Linked DNA regions of Homo sapiens: region 2 is linked to region 1. The links are contacts of gene promoters, found by promoter capture Hi-C in human tissues and cell types (Jung and others, 2019). All regions are on one chromosome and are shown on one strand. Each heading gives the region's core, a stretch centred on a gene start or on the middle of the fragment in contact. The rest is flanking DNA. Distances are from core to core; before and after follow the strand shown.

Region 1 (2,700 bases), core at 1-2,500:
CTCCGGCCTCTTCTGTGGCGCGAGGGACAGCGGAAACCACGGTAGACAGCACCCCCTTGAGTCCAATTCCTCCCCTTTCGGAGGAAGCCGGTTTCTCCTTTCTATGCTACTCCCGGGCCATTTCTGGACAACAGCTGCTATTTTCACTTGAGCCGAAGTTAATTTCTCGGGGAGTTCTCGGGCGCGCACAGGCAGCTCGGTTTGCCCTGCGATTGAGCTGCGGGTCGCGGCCGGCGCCGGCCTCTCCAATGGCAAATGTGTGTGGCTGGAGGCGAGCGCGAGGCTTTCGGCAAAGGCAGTCGAGTGTTTGCAGACCGGGGCGAGTCCTGTGAAAGCAGATAAAAGAAAACATTTATTAACGTGTCATTACGAGGGGAGCGCCCGGCCGGGGCTGTCGCACTCCCCGCGGAACATTTGGCTCCCTCCAGCTCCGAGAGAGGAGAAGAAGAAAGCGGAAAAGAGGCAGATTCACGTCGTTTCCAGCCAAGTGGACCTGATCGATGGCCCTCCTGAATTTATCACGATATTTGATTTATTAGCGATGCCCCCTGGTTTGTGTGTTACGCACACACACGTGCACACAAGGCTCTGGCTCGCTTCCCTCCCTCGTTTCCAGCTCCTGGGCGAATCCCACATCTGTTTCAACTCTCCGCCGAGGGCGAGCAGGAGCGAGAGTGTGTCGAGTGAGTGTGCGTCTGTGTGTCCCGGCGAGGGTGCGCGCTCGGCGCCGGGAGCGCGGCCAGCCGAGTCCGGAGGCATCGGGAGGTCGAGAGCCGCCGGGACCCCAGCTCTGCGTTCACTGCCCCGTCCGGAGCTGGACTTCGGGGCCGGGGCCGGGGCCGTGCGCCGGGGACAGGCAGGGCCGGGTCGCGGGCCGCGCGTCCCCCAGGCCGGAGGTAAAAGCGCTAGCGCGCGGAGGGCTCGAGGAGGGCACCGCGGCTGGGCCCCCCGCGCCCCGGGCCCCAGCCGTCCGCGGCTCCCGGCCCGACGCTCCCCGCCCCGGAGCGCGCCCGCCTCCCCTGCGTGGAGGCCGGCGGGCAGGCGAGCGGGGGGCGGTAGCGCCGTGCCAAGGGGCTGGCTGGGGCAGCGTGGCCGGCCGGGCTGGGGCGATTTAAGAGCGGTCCGGGCGGGGTGCGGAGCCGGACTTTGGCTGGGGCGGCGCGCGGGGAGGGGGCCGGGGGCGGTGGCGGCGGCGTTGGGGGGCGGGGAGGAGGCAGGAGGAGGAGCAGCAGCGCTCGCCGGGGGATGCAGCAGCGGCAGCGGCGGCGGCGGCGGCGGCAGCGGCAGCGGCGGCGCGGAGTCCCCTGCGCCCAGCGGCCCGGCCGGGCTGCGGCAGAGGCGGCGGCGGCGCCCCGCTCCGGGTGAGGTTGCCGGGGCCGTGCGCGCTGGTGAGTGGGGCGTGGGGGGCAGGTGGGTGGCTGGGGGACGCGGGGCTCGGGCGGGGGCTCGCGGCGGCCGGAGCCTTCCCCGGCGTGAGCCCGGCCGCGAGCGCCGCCCAGGTGAGCCGGGGCTGGTCCGGACCGCCCGGCTCCAGCCCCAGCGCTGCTTGCGGAGGTGGGTCCGGGCGGGCGGGAGGGAGGCTCCGGCGCCGGCCGTCCGCAGAGGGATGACCTGTTTGACCCCGCTGGCTGGCGGGCGGGCGAGGACTTCCCGCCGCGCCCCTGACCCGCGGACACGGCACACCGAGCACAGGCGGCCCCGGGTAGGGGAGCGCGCCTGGGCCGGCCATCCGCAGGGGCATGGCCTTGTTGACCCTTAGGGTTTAGACCCAAGGGACCGGTAGATGCCAGCCCACGTGGGGCTTGTCCGGGCAGGACTCGGGGAAGCAGTGGGCCGGATCTTCAGAGTGGTTGGAAACTCGCAGACACCGAAAGGACAAACAGGATCGAAAAGGCAGACTTCCTCCCAGGCCAGGGCAGAACGAGTTTCCATCGCCTGGCGGAGGGATGCTCCCCTCCCCGGCTCCTCGGGGTTTCAGAAGTCTAGCGGTGAATTCTAGGAGTGCACTTTTCCAAACATTCCTTATAGTAGTTCGTTCATTCGTTCTACAAGCATTTCTGGAGCACCCCCTCGTGCCGGGCACCGCGTTCTGTTCCAGGGAAACGCGGCTGAACAGGATCTGGCTCCTGCGCGCCAGAAGCTGCCGGTTCACTGGGAGGGCAGCAGGGTAGAGAGATGCCGTCTCGGGGTGGAAGATGGAAAGGGAAGCCTGCAATCCTAGTTTGCACACTGGCCTCGGTCCGCAACTCCCCCACCTGCACGCAGTAGGCCCAGCACACAGTAGGAAGAGCAAGCCAGACCTGCCTGTGACGACCCTCTCCTCCTCCTCCTCCCCCTTGAAAGCTTTGATTCATTCCCTGCCCCCCTTTCTGGAAAGTCTTCCTGCAGCTTGTTTTAATCACTTTTTGAGTTAAAAGTCAATATTTAATTAACCAAGTAATTACATTCAGCTTACGTTTCAATCTGGGTATTTGCTCATCTGTGCGTGTTGGGACACCCGCCCTCTCGCCCCTCCATCTGTCCCCTGCCTGTTTCCCACCGGGTCCACCCCCACTTTTGGGGCAGAGAAGGGGAGGCTGCGCTGGAGCAGGTTCTCAGGGGGAGACAGGGAGCAGGAGAGACGGGCTTTCTCTGGAGGACACCCCCGGATCTGCGCGCTCTCCAAATTTCAGCTTGTAGTGAATAGTGAAGGTGATTTCT
Region 2 (2,836 bases), core at 106-2,605, 1.1 Mb before region 1:
TTAGCTCGGCATCACCATCGAGTAAACCAAATAACATGTATCTATCAGTGCACATGCATTGATGTTTGGTAACAACACCCCTTCACTATTCTCAGGAACCACCTCACTCCCATTCTTGGACTTTGTGGTTTGGGGGATGCTGACCCCACTGTCCAGCTGCAGGGGTTCGATGTATAACCCAGTATCTTGCCTTGTCACAGTAATTGGCTCAGAAACAGGCATGTGTTCCAAGCTGGACCAATGAGAATCCTGCCTGGGACTTCAGCTGGAAATATTGAGAAAGAGGACTTTCTACTGAAGTTGGTAAACTTGAAGGGTGTAGGTTTGTTGATGCTGAAACCATTGTCTGTCACCTTAGTGGAAGAGCTTGCCTAAGCATGAGGTCAACACAGAGGAAAGAAGAGCTAGAGATGGAGACATACTGACAACAGCATTGCAGTTGCTGGATCAAACTGTACCTGAAGCCAAACATCCCCTGGACTTTTCAGTTACATAAGCCAATAAATTCCCTTCTTCTGCTTAAACCAATTAAGGCTGGTTTTCTGTCACTTGCAATCAAAAGAGTCCTGACTAATACATCTATCAAACACATTTATCTTTATATTCAGGAGATATACTCCATGTACAGCAAAGAGCTGATTATTGTGGTGTCCAAGAGCATGAACTAGGAAACCAAATCTCATATGGAGCCGTCAGAGACCAATCAGAGAAGCAGAAATCCCACTAGGTATTCAAATAGAGGGAATATAATACAAGGAATTGGTCACACAGATGATAGAAGTGAGAAGCCAAATGGCATGTTAGACAACTCAGTGCTAAACCATAGCAGGAAGATGATGCCATCTTTGTTGGGGGAGGAGCAGAGAACAGTTGGTGCTACCATGCTGTGAAGTTGAAGCTGGGCCACCTGGCAGGAGACAGAATCCTGATGGCCTGCCCAGCTAGATCCAGGATCACCAAGGGACAGACTGTACAGCTGGATCTGCAGCCACAGATGAGGCACAGCAGCTGCTGATGATGCTTTGGAGGCACAGAGAGAGAGAACGAGAGAAAATATCCTGGATTCTCCCCTCCTTTCACCCTTCGGTCTACTGTGAGTGGTTCTCAACTAGCCAAACCCACCCAGAAACCAGTGAGATTACATATGTGCCACAATCCCTCCCAGAATCCTGGCACATAAGAGGCCCTTCCTTGGGAGGTATTGGTTGAATGTGAATGTGATGAAAAGAAAGATGTTTACAGTTTCTTCATCTATGTAGGGAGGATGAGGGTAAAAGCACCATGTGGGATGGGCTATGGGAGGAGGGGAGCTGATGCATGAAAGCATGAGCACAGCCACTGGCATCTAGTAAATGCTCAAGAAATGCCCTGGCTAGGTACAGGGGCTCACACCTGTAATCCCGGGGCTTTGGGAGGCTGAGGCAGGAGGATGGATTGAGGCTAGGAGTTCGAGACCACGCTGGGCAACATAGCGAGACCCTCATCTCCACAAAAAAATTTTTTAAAATTAGCTGGGCATGGTGGCACATGCTTGTAGTCTCAGCTATTTAGGAGGGTGAAGCAGGAGGATCGTTTGAACCCAGGAGGTCGAGGGTGCAGTGAGCCATGATTGCACTACTGCACTCCAGCCTGGGTAACAAAGTGAGACCCTGTCTCTAAAAGTAAAGAAAGAAAGAGAAAAGGAAGGAAGGAAGGAAGGAAGGAAGGAAGGAAGGAAGGAAGGAGGGAAGGAAGGAAATCCTCACAGCCACCATACAAGGCAGTATTACTATCACTGTTATCCCAATTTGACCAGGAAGGCTTAATTAGATTTAAAGCTGTAGTTCTCAACTGGGGATGATTTTGTGCCCCTGGGGACACTTGGCAATGTCGACAATGTCAATGGAGACATTTTTTTAGTTGTCACAACTTGGGGGGAGGAGCTGCTCCTGGCACCTAGTGGGTAGAGACGGTGCATACTGCTAAACATCCTACAATACCCAGGACAGCCCCCACTGCAAAGAGTGATCTGGCTGTCACTGTCCATAGAGCAATGGCTGAGAAGTTGTGCTTCAGAGACTTGCTCCAAGCCTGAGGCTCATAAGGGGCTCAAGCCAGCCAGGTCTGTCCGTGTCCTAGGCCACGTTCTTTTCAGTGCCCTGTACCACTGCACACACCAGCACCTTGTTTTCCCGGCAAGGTGTGTCATCCCCAGCAGGTGGGTGTCTTCCCTGGGGAGAGCCCAGCACACTTGACAACTGCAGCTGAACAAAGCTTGAGTTTCCTTTGCCCCTTCAAGTCCCTTCTTCTTCTCACCCAACTCCAGATACTGCTTTCAATTCCCAACTGGTTCTAGGAAGCATTCTTCCTCTTCTTCTTCCTCTTCCTCTTCTTCTTCTTCCTCTTCTTCTTCTTCTTCTTCCTCTTCCTCTTCCTCTTCTTCTTCTTCTTCCCCTTCTTCTTGTTCTTGTTCTTGTTCTTCTTCTTCTTTTCTTCTTCTTCCTCTTCCTCTTCTTTTTCCTCTTCTTTTTCCTCTTCTTCTTCCTCTTCTTCCTCTTCTTCTCCTTCTCCTCCTTCTCCTTCCTCTTCCTCTTCTTCTTCCTCTTCCTCTTCTTCTTCTTCTTCTTCTTCCCCTTCTTCTTGTTCTTGTTCTTCTTCTTCTTTTCTTCTTCTTCCTCTTCCTCTTCTTTTTCCTCTTTTTCTTCCTCTTCTTCCTCTTCTCCTTCTCCTCCTTCTCCTTCCTCTTCCTCTTCCTCTTTGTCTTCTTCTTCTCCTTCTCCTTCCTCTTCCTGTTCTTCTTCTTTATTCTTCCTTCTTCTTCCTTCTCCTTCTTCTCCTTCTCCTTCTTCTTATTCTT

What was found. Contacts are between HindIII fragments. The study calls those that stand out against the background at their distance.
Region 2: a fragment that was not itself captured here is called in contact with the fragment with the promoter of SULF2 in region 1 in 2 of the 25 tissues and cell types used here (mesendoderm cells and thymus).

Annotation. Positions count from the first base shown.
Region 1 is chr20:47,784,031-47,786,730 of GRCh38, reverse strand. SULF2 (sulfatase 2) reads left to right here and starts at 1,250. Exons shown (of 21, transcript NM_001387048.1): 1 at 1,250-1,388. It overlaps LOC124904920 (a long non-coding RNA gene), which reads right to left and starts at 977. Exons shown (of 2, transcript XR_007067618.1): 1 at 569-977; 2 at 1-326. RefSeq lists an enhancer at 1-132. The HindIII fragment of the contact is 5,454 bases long and covers 1-2,700 here.
Region 2 is chr20:48,891,138-48,893,973 of GRCh38, reverse strand. No RefSeq gene overlaps it. Among named protein-coding and RNA genes, the nearest start is that of ARFGEF2, 29 kb to the left of the region's middle. The HindIII fragment of the contact is 6,824 bases long and covers 1-2,836 here.